Regions from separate parts of the Homo sapiens genome. Here region 1 is linked to region 2. Evidence: promoter capture Hi-C in 16 types of primary human blood cells and fetal thymus (Javierre and others, 2016). All regions are on one chromosome and are shown on one strand. Each heading gives the region's core, a stretch centred on a gene start or on the middle of the fragment in contact. The rest is flanking DNA. Distances are from core to core; before and after follow the strand shown. Region 1 has its middle 22 kb from the start of TMEM179. Region 2 holds the start of ASPG (asparaginase).

Region 1 (6,524 bases), core at 1,501-4,000, 540 kb after region 2:
GCCAGCAGATTCGATGCCTGTGAGGGTGCTTTCCACGTGTCCTCACAAGGCGAAGCGGCAAGCGGTTCCCTCGGGCCTTAACAAGGGCCTTAACAGGGCACTAATCCTGTTCCAAATGGGCAGCCCTTCTCACATCCTAGTACAACACCTTGGGAGCTGGGTTTCAACATAGGAATTTTGGGGGGACGTGAACACTTAGACCATCACAAAGTCATGGGCTTGATTCACTTACCACAGGAAAAAAAATCACTTTGGCTCACAAGTGACATCCAACTACATGCTGTATTCAAGACACAGCTGAAGTAAAGTGATCCAAAATGCTGGAATTGAAGGGATGAACGAAGGTACATGAGTCATATAAATGCAGCAAGAAAAGAAATGGGGACCACGCTAGCAGGCAAGGTAAAATTCAAGACAAAAAAGCCTTAGGCAGCACGAAGAAGGACTTTTTAATGCAAAAAGACAAGATTCACGCAAAGATCAGTTATGCAACAAGTAACTCAGGGCCAGATGTGGTGGCTCATGCCTGTAACCCCAGCACTTTGGGAAGCTGAGGCAGGCAGATTGCTTGAGCCTCAGGAGTTCAAGACCAGCCTGGGCAACATGGCGAAACCCAGTCTCTACGAAAATTAGCTGGGCATGGTGGGCATGCCTTGGTCCCAGCTACTAGGAAGGCTGAGGTGGGAGGATTGCTTGAGTCCAGGAGGTTGAGGCTACAGTGAGCCGAGATCATGCCACTGCACTCCAGCCTGGGTGACAGAGCGAGACCCTGTCTCAAAAGTAAATAAATAAAAATAACTCAGCAACCACCTTCAAGGAGCAAAAACACAGAAACTGTAAGGAGTCATAGCAGCAAACTAGCAATAGGAAACGTTAGCATATCACTCCCGGAGCAAGGCGGCTCAAGGGAACAAAAAAATAAGTAAAGTGGGTCGGCTTGTGTCCGCCAGGAAGCAGGCAGGCGCTGAAGTCAGGATGTAAGAGGTGCATTAGGGGCAGCACCTACGGAAGGTGAAGGTGAAGCAGGCACAGGATTGGACAGGCAGAGCCGGGGGCTGAGACGTATGTCTCACAAAGTCTCAACAACCCTGGGGGAGGTTTAAGGCAAAGACTGCATGAAAGGCCCAGGTGAACAAAACTGGCCAGGTCCTCATCCCATGCCTGCCCCTGCCATTGCCTGAGGCTGCCCAGGAAGAACAAGGCCTGCTGCAAGCATTGTGGCAGCCCCGGAAGGGGCTACAGCTGCAGGCCATTGGCTAACTGCTCCTCTCCAGCAGAGAGACAAATGCTTCTGGAAAGGAGATCTGAGCAGCTCACCTCCCTGGCTGCCACATAGAACACAGAAGATCTAAACAACACAGCGGCTCCAGTAGAGCCAGTGGGTGCATTTTATATTCACACACACACACACACACAGACACACACACACACACAATTTACAGTTTTAGCCTGGAGATGGATGGTGGTGATGGTTGCTGAGCGATATGAATGTAGTTAACGCCACTGAACTGTTCACTTACAATGGTTAAAATGGTAAGCTTTATGTTATTATATTTCACACTTAAAAACCTACACTAAGATACCTTCTCATATGGATAGAAATTACAAAGCATGACAATATACTCTGTTGGCAAGGCTGTGGGAAACAGTAACTCTTATACATTACTAGTGGGAGTGTAAACTGCTACAAGCCTTTAGGAGGTGAATTTGGAGTTGTTTTTTTTTTTTTTTTTTGAGACAGAGTCTCGCTCTGTCGCCCAGGCTGGAGGGCAATGGCGCCATCTCAGCTCACTGCAACCTCCGCCTCCCAGGTTGAAGCGATTCTCCTGCCTCAGCCTCCCGAATAGCTGGGATTATAGGTGCGTACCACTGCACCTAGCTAATTTTTTTTTTTATTTTTAGTAGAGAGGGGTCTCACCATGTTGGCCAGGTTGGTCTCAAACTCCTGGCCTCAGGTGATCCTCCGGCCTCGGCCTCCCAAAATGCTGGAATTACAGACGTGAGCCACCAGGCCCAGCCGGAATTTGGAGTATCTTACCAAACTGTGGCCTGTAGTCACATTTCCACCCGGCTATCCCACCTCTGGGGAGCCACACGGAAACTGCGTAAGCCCAGAGTTATTCATTGCAGCCTATATGGGGAAACCCTGTATATCAGGCAACTGGAGAGTAGTGGATAAACCATAATACATTCATGCAATGAAGTTCTATGCAGCTTTGAAAAAGAGTGATAAAGACTCCTAAGAACTCAACTCTGTGAGTGGCTTCCAGATGAACTTTTTACATTATAAAAGCAAAGAGCAGAACAGCATCTATAGAATGCTCTCTTTGTGTAAGAAGTAAATGGAAACAGGAAATTAAACATGCAGCTACTCTTTTGTGCAAAAAGAAACACAGTGATATGGTTTGGCTCTGTGTCCCCACCCAGATCTCATGTTGAATTGTAATTCCCAGTGTTGAAGGTGGGGTCCTGGGGGCAGGTGACAGGATCATGGGGGTGATTTCTAAAGGTTTAGCAACACCTCACTAGTGCCATCTCCTATAGAGTTCTCACCAGATCTGATGTTTGAAAAGTGTGTAGCACCTCCCACTTTGTTCTCTCTCTCTCCTACAGCCATGTGAAGATGTGCTTGCTTCTCCTTCACCTTCCACCATGATTGTAAGTTTCCTGAGGCCTCCCAGCCATGCTTCCTGTATAGCCTACAGAACTGTCAGTCAATTAAACCTCTTTTCTTTATATTAACAAATTACCCATTCTCAGATAGTTCCTTATAGCAGTGTACGAATGGACTAATACAAGAATAATAAACGAGAAACATATAAGGTTGTTTGGCTATAGAGGCTTGGATAAACCAAAGGAGTGGAAAAGATGGGGGAATGGGAACAGGGTAGCAAGTGGGGGAGAGACACTGTGGGCACTTTTATTTTCTATTGTTCTGACTTTTAGAACCATGTTAATGCTTCACATGCTCAAACATAAATAAGTAACTAAAATTTATTAAAAGAACCAGAGCTGCTTGGAGAAATAACTGGAGAAGGGAAAAATCATAATCTTGAACTACAGAAGTAATCAAAAAAATGAGAGGGATGTGTCAAAAGAACACAGGGGTGGCCAAAAGTAGCTCCCAATGGCATCGGCTGGGAAATCTGTACAACAACATAAATAATAATCACATTGAACTAAAATAGCTAAAATCAGAATTCATGGGTCTATACTGCTATAAATAATTGAAGGAATAATGAATAAATATATAAATTATAAAAACATTCAAAAGAAAACTATGGTCATTAGAATTTTTAAAATCAGTGAATAGATTCATAGAAGTTAAGACACAGCTGTAGAGAAAATTACTATCTGTAAAGGTCTGAAGAAATCATCCAGCAGGCAGAGCAAAGAAATGAAAAGAGGGAAGATATGAAAGAGCGTCAAGAAGGAAAGAATGAAGTTTACCTTATCTCTAATTGGAGCTCCAAGAGAGAATAGAACTGAGACCATGTTTGAGAGACCGTGTGCCGGTCCCCAAAACCACCCCCAAACATGAGATTTGCTAAAAGGATTCACAAGACCCAGCACATTGTCATACTCATGGCTAAGATTTATCACGGCAAAAGAATCCACAGAAAAATCAGCAAAGGGAAAAGTCTCATGGGGTGAAATCTGGAGGAAACAAGGCACAAGTTTCCAGGAGCCCTGATATGGTTTAGATCTGTGTCCCCACCCAAATCTCATGTCAAATTGTGATCCCCAATGTTGGAGGTGCGGCCTGGCAGGAGGTGCTGGAATCATGGGGGTGGATTTCCTATGAATGGTTGAGCACCATCCCCCTTGGCACTGTCCTCATGATGATGAGTGAGTTCTTATGAGATAGAGCTGCTTAAAAGTATGTAGCCCCTCCCCACTCAGTCTCTTCCTCCTGTTCTCCATGTGACGCACCTACTCCCCCTTCTCCTTCCACCATGATTGGAAGCTTCCTGAGGCCACCTCAGAAGCTGAGCAGATGCCAACATCATGCTTTCTGTACAGCCTGCAGATCCATAAGCCAAGTGACCCTCTTTCCTTTATAAATTACCCAGTCTCAGGTATTTTTATAGCAATGCAAAAATGAACTAATATAACTCCTTTCCTAATAATAGTCACATAAGATGAACTTAATTCCCCCAGCAACAAATTGTGATGACACAGGTGAGTTATTGTCTACCAAAGCAGCTCATCAGAGTTGCAGTACCCAGGGATTCCAGCTGGTCACACAGGCACCCCCTGCCTAGCACATACCAAAACTCCAGGCTCCCAGAAGAAAAGCAGGTGTTTAGCATAAACTAACTTTACTATTTGCACAAACTGTTTAGAGACAATGAGCCACTCACTCTTGTCAGTTCTAGAAATGACAAGCACCCTCCTGAAATCCATGTTTGGCCAAGGCCATCCTTGTGAGTAGCCTTTCTAAGGGTGAGCAGTCTCAGGCTTGCCACAGTCATTCTTTTCTTCACAGATACAATGGCTGAGAGGTTTCCAGAATTGATGAAAGACAGGGATTCTCAGATTCACAATTCCTAATAAGTTCTAGGCAGAATAAATAAAATTAATCACATTCCTAATTATATCTCAGTGTATAACTGCAGAACATCATGACAAGGAGAATATATTAAGAGTAAACAGCAGGCCGGGCACGGTGGCTCATGCCTGTAATCCCAGCACTTTGGGAGCCCGAGGCGGGTGGATCACGAGGTCAGGAGATCGAGACCACCCTGGCTAACATGGTGAAACCCCGTCTCTACTAAAAATACAAAAAAAATTAGCCAGGCGTGGTAGCAGGCATCTGTAGTCCCAGCTACTCGGGAGGCTGAGGCAGGACAATGGCGTGAACTCGGGAGGTGGAGGTGGAGGTGGCAGTGAGCCGAGATTGCACCACTGCACTCCAGCCTGGGCAACAGAGTGAGACTCTGTCTAAAGAAAAAAAAAAAAAAAAAAAAAAAACAGAGTAAACAGCAAAAACCAGAAGTATTGGTTTGCTAGGCCTGCCATAACAAAATACCACAGACTGGGAGGCTTAAACAACAGAAATTCCTTTTCTCAGTCCTGGAGGCTGGAAGTCCAAGCTCAAGCTGTCGGTGTTGGCAGGTTTGGTTTGTGCTGAGGCCTCTCTCCTTGCCTGGCGGATAGCCACCTTCCCAGTATGCTCTTCCATGGCCTTTCCTCCGTGTGTCTCTACCTCTTCTTATAAGGACACCAGTCAGATTGGATTAGGATCCCCCTCAGTGGCCTCGTTTTTAACTTAATTACCTTTTATAGACCTTATCCAAACACGATTACATTCTGAGGTACTGGGGATTGGGATGTCATCCTGGGGAGTGGGGCACAATTTAGCCCATATTGGCAGATAACCTACAAGGGAACTATAATTCAGCTGACTTCTTAACAACAACAATAGAAGCCAGAACAGAGTGAGGAAATGTCTTCACCATGCTGAGAGAAAGTATGTGTCAACCTGGAATTTTATACCCAACAACATTGCCAGTCAGGGTGGCAACTATATTTTTTAAAACACTTTCAACAAACAAAAATTAAAAATTGAACAATCACATTCCTTCACTGAAAGAATTCCTAAAGGATATTTTTCAGAGAGAAACAAATTAAATCCAAAGGAAGGAGTGAGAGTCAAGAAGTAGTGGTGGGGTGCTAGGCATGGTGGCTCACACCTGCAATCCCAGCACTTTGGGAGGCCAAGGCCAGTGGATCACCTGAAGTCAAAAGTTCAAGACCGGCCTGGGCACCATGGTGAAACCATGTCTCTACTAAAAATACAAAAATTATCCAGGCATGGTGGTGGGAGCCTGTAATCCCATCTACTCAAGAGGCTGAGGCACGAGAATCGCTTGAACCCAGGAGGCGGAGGTTGAAATGAGCTGAGATCGTGCCATTGCACTTCAGCCTGGGTGACAGAGTGAGACTCTGCCTCAAAAAAGAAAAAAAAAGTAGTGGTGAGGAGAAAATATAAAATATGTAAGTAAATCCAAATGAGATTAATCGTTATTAAATGATGATAAGGACAAATTTTGTGATATGAAAACAAGAAATAAGATGAAACTAAAATAACAGTTCAGAAAAACACATACAGAATAGTATAATTACCATTCAAATATTCCAACGTCCTTTTAATATTCTAGAGGATTGTATAGATTTTGATTGCGTTTAGACTTTAAGCCAAGTATGCATGTATCTACTAAAAATAAAAACAGAATTTGGAAAGAAAAAGGAAGAAGGAAAAAAATGCCTCAGCCCCACAGAAAACAGAAAACGAGGGAGAAAGAAGCCAAGGAAAATCACAAGAAATAAAAATCACAAAATAAAATTGCAGAAGTGAATCCAAATGTGTCAATAAATATGAATAAACTGAACTTGCAAGTTAAAATAGAGCTTCGACAAAACCAAATCCAGCTATACGCTTTCCTAAGAGATGCAAAATACAGAAACACCAACAATTTAGGTTTCAAGAAGAAATTTTAAAAATTAGCAAATACTTTATT
Region 2 (6,753 bases), core at 114-2,613:
AATGCTGGTGCCTTCTGGGGGCAACACACAGTTTCCCACCAAAGTGCATCAGTGCCCCAGGCAGTCAAGGTGCCAGGAGACGAGGAGGCCGCGGATCTTCTGTCCACCTGGGAGCAAGCCTGCAGCTTGGGACCCTCCTGGGACCCTGCACCCGCCAGTGCCCTGCCCTCCTGGGCTCTCATGGGAGTGAAGGAGGGTGGGCTCTGTAGGAGTTAAAGAAAGAGGAAAGAAACATGAAAAGCGGCTCAACAAAGGCAGGTTTATTTTGGAGAATAAACCTGAAAGGGACTTCTGGCCGATTTTGGTCAGGAGCCATCTCTCCTACAGACTAAGGATCTTTAAGGGTTTAGGAAGTGGGGAGCTTATCGCAGGCTCGGAATGTTTCTATGTGAGGGAAAGTTTATTGCGGGCTTGGAATGTCTCTGGTCGGAGGGGAGGTTATCTCGAGGTTGGCATGTTTCTGATTGGAGATGTTATTTGTGGTTTACGGTCGTGCTGACATTAGCTATTGGGCTGATGTGTTTTGGGCTGGATTTAGGCAGCTTTTTAATCAAAGGGAACCTAAAATGGCGGTGTTTGTCCAAGAAGGCCATACTCCTGCTCTGTCCCGCTCCAGCCCTTGGGGGCCCCTCGGGCTCTTCTCTTGGATGGTGTGTGAATGGGCACATGTGGAGGGGCTGGTCCAGCTCTGCCTGCCTCTGGCCATCCAAAGGAGGGACAGCAGGGCCTGGGCAGCAATGCCGGCCTTGGAGCCCCGGGGCTGTGGAGGCTGCTTGACAGGACACGGAGCCCCCTCTGTGCTCAGGTCGTGGAGGGCCTCGGGCACTACGGTCTGCCAGGCACCACATGTCACAGCTACTCAAACACCCAGGGCCGCCACGGAGGGCCAATGGCCGCAGGATGGCTCAGGACCCGCCCCACCCCTGTCGCTGCCTTTCTGGCTGCCCCCTAGTCCCTGGACAGGCGCTCCCCAGCCCCAAGCAGGCCCCAGCCAATCTCCTGCCCAGGCAGGAGCTCCCCCTGCCGCCCTCACAGACCTCACCTCTTCCTACACGTTTCCAAGGCCGCGCCCCGCCCCGCACCCCGCCAGGCCCCGCCCCGCACCCCGCCAGGCCCCGCCCCGCACCCCGCCAGGCCCCGCCCCGCACCCCGCCAGGCCCCGCCCCCACCCCGCCAGGCCCCGCCTCTCTCTCCGACCCTGGACAGTCCCCGGGACCCACCCCGCCCCCAGGTCCTGCCCCCGCCCGCCTCCGCGGGGCCTCCCACCCTCCCGGGCAGACTCCACTCCCGCCCCCTCCCCGTGGGTGCCCCCGCCGGCCCCGCCCTCCCAGGCTGCCCCCGGCGCCCCGGGCCTCCTCCGCGCAGTCCCTGAGTCCCGCAGGCCCTGCGTCCCCGCTGCACACCCCCGTCCACTCCCGTGGTCCCCGGTCCGGCATGGCGCGCGCGGTGGGGCCCGAGCGGAGGCTGCTGGCCGTCTACACCGGCGGCACCATTGGCATGCGGAGTGAGCTCGGCGGTGAGTCCGAGACCCTGGGCGGGGTAGGCCTCTGGACCTGGCCGCGACCGGGAGCCTCGGACCCTCCTGCACCCACGGGGGTCGTTGGGGAGTCAAATCCGCGCCTGGATGGGGGGTGCGGGCTGAGGTCGCTCTCCTCCGGTTCCGGCCACCGGCGTCCCCACGCATGGAGCCCCGACCTGGACAGAGGAGATTGCGGTGGGTTCTCGCCGTCGCGGTGCTCCCGGGAGCGCCCTGCGACCCTGGGGCCAGGCCCCCTGTGCTGCCGCTGCGCCCCTGAGGGCCAGCGTCCTGAAGTCCTGGAATATGGGGCGGGAGGGCCCCAGGGCATTGGCCTGCCGCTCCTGCTCTGGACACAGAAGGCTTAGGAGGCTGCCCTGGAGAAGGCTTAGGAGGCTGCGAGGACCCCTCAACTGCGACACCCAGGAGGGTGTCCCCGTCCCCTGGGGTCCTGGTCAGGCAGCAGTGGTTGGCACGATACTGGGGCTACCTGGCATCTGCGGGGACGCACGTGTTCACACCCGAGGTGGCCTCAGAGCCCTGCTTCCTCTGCCCCTGTGTGGACCTGGTTGACCAGAGACCAGCGATTGCGTCTGGACTGAGTTCTGCCTGGGTGGGGTCAGGGCCTGGGACAGGCACCGAGCTCTGTGGTACTCCAGCACAGTGCTGCCAGCCTGGGCTGGGCACAGGAAGGATGGTAGCTTGGGGAGCCTGAGGCCACCGGGATGGGGAGAGGACGGTTGCACTGGAGCCTCCAGAATGCCTGGGTGTTCCCCAGGAGGGCAGGACACTGCCTGGGGCCCCCAGATGGGCTCTGCTGTGATGTGGGGCCTCCCTTGGGGCCAGGACAGCCCCCTCGCCCCGTCTTGAACCTGTTTGCGACCCTCCATGGGCCACTGCCTGCCTTTCCCTCAGGAGCCCTTTCCACTCCTCCTCCTCCCACTCCCTGCTGCCCTGGCCCCTCCCCACACTCCTGCTTGTGTCCAGCGCAGCTCTCTCTCCTGGGACGGCTGGGACCCTCTCCGGCTCTGCCAGAGCCCAGGGCCTCCCCTGGCATGACCAGAACATTCTCTTGTCCCTTGCCCATCTGCCAACCACTTCCCCGCCCCTCCTATCCCCACCCCCTCTCACGGCCTGTTCCCTGGCAGCTGCCCCTCCTGGCCACCCCTTTCTGCTGAAGTGGCTGCTCAGAAGCCACCAGCACTCTGTCGGTGCTCTCAGATTCCACCCACCACACTGTGGCCGGTGCAGACCCCTCTGGAGGCCCACTCTGCGCCCAGCCCAGGAGACAAAGCCTAGTGGGGCTCGTCCACGAGGGACTCAGGTCCCCAAGAACGTGGCTGTCCAGGCTGCCGGGAGCCTCCTCTGCACTTCTCCTTCTGCCTGTGAATGGAACAAAGTCATTCACAGCTTGGCAAACGCCCCTGTGTGACACTCCACTGACACAGAGTGACACAATTCCTGTGCTTGGCCCTCACAAGCTAGAGAGAGAGGCTGCCATTGAAGGGATGGCATGCATTAAGGAGCTAGTCCCAGGGGCAGGATCTGCCAGGGCCCTGTAGGGGCTGTGGGCTGATAACAGGGTCTGAGCTGGGTGTGTGGATGGTGTGGAGTTTGGAGGCAGCCCAGGGAGGGCTTCTCTGAGGACACAAGGCCTGCAGGACAAAGATGGGAGAGGGCCAGGCCAGGAGCAGCCCTGCAAGGTGCAGGAAAGAGGAGTGGGGAGCCCAGCAGGGCCGGAGCCTGCCAGAGCTGCCCCCGAGTGGGGACAGGACCTGGGGACTCTGTGTGGGGCCTCGTCCGACGCCCCTGACGCTACCCCTTCAGGCTTGGAGTGTGGCCAACTGCAGTTTCGTTGAGCTCAACATGTAGTTCTTGAGTGGTCCGAGCTGCAGGGGCAGGTGGACTCTGTAACCCCACCACACACCCGTCTCGCTTGGCCCCCGCGTGCTCGCCGCAGCAGCCTGTGGGTGCACTCACACGCGTGCACCGCATTTCTGAAAGAGGCTGTGAGGTCCTGTGTCTGGGTGGGAAACAAGAGACTTGGAGGCTGGAAATTGGGTGTGGGGCGTCAGTCTTCAGACCTGAAGCAGCCTTCTGAGATCCCTTGGTGCTCTGTGCACTGGGGTCCTGGCTTCTGCTCAGCAGCCCGTCCTCGTGTGGCTGCGAGGTCACCCCCAGCTGTTGCTAGCTGACCCATGTGGGGCATCCACTTCCAGGAACCTGCAGGAATGGGCTCCCCCAACCCCTCGTGAGGTTGGAGCAGCCAGACTGTCAGGCGTCAATGATTTACTCCCTCCACACTGCTGACGTGGGCTCTGGCCTTCCCTGGGGAGGTGAGAGGGGAGTGGTGGCTTTGCCCTAGTAAAGCTGTTTGATTGTCGCTGTTGGAACGGCTTCTGCGCCTGCTGGTAAACAGTGACCTGTGGGTGGAACGCTGCACACCTGGAGCCCTGCCAGAGTTCAGGGAGGGCAGAGGTGATGCCAGTGGGGACGCCCCTTGACCCATCCCTTCTCTGAGTTCATTGAAGCTATCACAGGTCAAGGGGCATAGCGAATCCAAACACGGCTGATAACCCCAAGCCCAAGCTGGCATCAGTGGCCACGTTCTGTACACCCGAGAAACTTGAAGACTTCCTATGTCAAACTGGGAACCCCACCTGCTTGCCGGCCTGTCCCAAAGTCCCTCCTGAGCCCGGCTCCTTGCAGGCACAGCAGGGAGGGCAGAGATCTGGGGCCAGGCAGCTGAGAGAAGCTCCCTGCCCGGTGACCACACGGGTCCCAGCAGTCGAGAGTGTCAGTGGAGTGATGCCCATGGCTTCTTGGTTACTGCAGTGGCGTCTGTGCCCTTGGCCTGGACCTCCTTCCTGAATGGGTGCTACACGTTCACAAGTTTCTAAGCCTAAGCTTGACTTCGCTGGTGACAGTGGGGCCCATTGTCTTAGAGAGCAAAGCCTCCTTTCCAGGTGTTTGGCAGGGGGCTGAGGAGTTTCCAAGTCACCAGCAAACTCAGGCACCTGCCTGGATGGGCCAAGGAAGAGGTTCCAGGCAGGGCTGGAGGGTTCAGATTCTGCAGCCCTTGAAGCTTTTGGAGGGCCCTCATTGAGAAAAGTAATACAAGTTACAAAATCATAGTTAGGTGTGAAAGCCGGTGTTTGTTTATTTTTTATTTATTTTTATTTTTTTGAGATGGAGTCTCACTCTGTCGCCCAGACTGGAGTGCAGTGGCGCGATCTCAGCTCACTGCAAGCTCTGCCTCCCGGGTTCACACCATTCTCCTGCCTCAGCCTCCCGAGTAGCTGGGACTACAGGCGCCCGCCACCGTGCCCGGCTGAAAGCTGGTGTTTATTTAAAATAACAAAAGAAATTGCCCCAGCTGACTGGGCGCGGTGGCTCACACCTGTAATCCCAGCACTTTGGGAGGCTGAGGTGGGTGGATCACTTGAGATCGGGAGTTCAAGACCAGCCATGGACAACATGGTGAAACCCTGTCTCTACTAAAAATACAAAAAAAAAATTAGCCAGATGTGGTGGCAGATGCCTGTGGTCCCAGCTACTGGGGAGGCTGAGGCATGAGAATCGCTTGAACCCAGGAGGTGGAGGTTGCAGTGAGCCGAGATCTCGCCACTGCACTCCAGCCTGAGTGACAGAGTGAGACCCTGTCTCAAACAAACAAAAAAAACTGATGCCACTACATACCTGTTAGAATGGCTGCTGACGTACAACACATTGACTGCGGGGTGAGTGCTGGAGCCCCAGAGTTGGAAAGTGGTCCACTCGCAGGTTGGTAAGAAAACTTTACTGGCGACAGTATAGGTTTGAAAAAGGAACGTTTGGCCAGACATGGTGGCTCAGGCCTGTAATTCCAACACTTTGGGAGGCCAAGGCGGGTGGTTCACTTGCCTTGCTAACATGGCGAAACCCCGTCTCTACTAAAAATAAAAAATTAGCTAGGTGTGGTGGTGCATGCCTGTAATCCCGGCTACTCGGGAGGCTAAGGCAGGAGAATTGCTTGAGCCGGGTGGGTGGAGGTTGCAGTGAGTCGAGATGGCATCACTGTACTCCAGCCTGGGCAACAGAGTGAGACTCTGCCTCAAAAAAAAAAAAAAAAAAAAAAAAAAAGGAAGAAAGGAGAAGAAAAAGAAAAAAGAAAGAAATTGGCCAGGCTGGTTTTGAACTCCTGGGCTCAAATGATCTTCCTGCATCAGCCTCCCAAAATTCTGGGATTACAGGTGTGAGCCATAAAAACCACTGCAAAAGCACATATGGAGTGTTTTGCTTGAGAGAAGAGGACACCAAGAGAGTTTAGTCTTGTCTTTGGCTGATTTCGCCTGTGGTGCCCACACATGCCCCCAGCAGGGACAGCAGGGCCCATATCCACGCCTACCACTCTGCAGCATTCCTGGAAGTTTCTGGAAGCTGTTCCCCCACATGAGTCAGCAGCAGCTGGAGGTGACCTTGCACAACGTGAGCATGTCCCACAAAACCAAACCAGATATGCCCCCTCCACCTTTCCCATAAGGCACCCCAGCTTCACCCGCCGTGATGAGTGGAGAGTGACTTTTTGTTTCCTGTGGCCACTGTGCCGGGCGGCTGAACATCACAGAAGTTCGTTCTGGGTTCTGGAGGCCGAGGCCTGAGAGGGGTTTCCCCGGGCTGAGCCAAGGTGCTGCAGGGCACCGCTCCGTCCTGACGCTCTGCGGGAGGAGCCACCCCTGCCACCTCCAGTGTCTGGTGGCTGCTGCAATCCTTGGCTTGTGGCCGCATCACTCCAGTCATCCAGGCCAGCATCTCCAAGGGCCGCTCTGCCCTGTCGTCATATGGCCTTCCCCTCCCCGTGCCCTGTGGCCTTCCACCTGTGAGGAAACACGAGAGGGCGTTTAGGGCCCACCTGGATTGTCCAGGGCCACCTCCCGCCCCATGACCCCTAATATCACATCCGTAAAGACACTTCCATATGAAGTGACACCCACAGGTACCGGGGATTGGGATGTGGACATCTTTTTAATTTTTATGTATTTATTTAATTTTTTGAGACAGTCTCATTCTGTCACCCAGGCTGGAGTGCAGTGGTGCGATCTTGGCTCACTGCAACCTCCGCCTGCCAGATTCAAGTGATTCTCCCGCCTCAACCTCCCAAGTAGCTGGGATTACAGGCACCTGCCATCATGACCAGTTAATTTTTGTATTATTCGTAAAGACAGGGTTTCACCATGTTGACCAGGCTGGTCTTGAAT

The links. The method cuts DNA at HindIII sites, captures the fragments that hold promoters and counts their contacts. A CHiCAGO score of 5 or more calls a contact.
Region 1: a fragment that was not itself captured here is called in contact with the fragment with the promoter of ASPG in region 2 in 8 of 17 cell types (endothelial precursors, total B cells, M0 macrophages and 5 more); the score reaches 13.1 in endothelial precursors.

The regions. Positions count from the first base shown.
Region 1 is chr14:104,623,948-104,630,471 of GRCh38, forward strand. No RefSeq gene overlaps it. Among named protein-coding and RNA genes, the nearest start is that of TMEM179, 22 kb to the left of the region's middle. The HindIII fragment of the contact is 2,429 bases long and covers 1,537-3,965 here.
Region 2 is chr14:104,084,337-104,091,089 of GRCh38, forward strand. It overlaps ASPG (asparaginase), which reads left to right and starts at 1,364. Exons shown (of 16, transcript NM_001080464.3): 1 at 1,364-1,516. The coding sequence starts at 1,435. The HindIII fragment of the contact is 21,966 bases long and covers 1-4,421 here.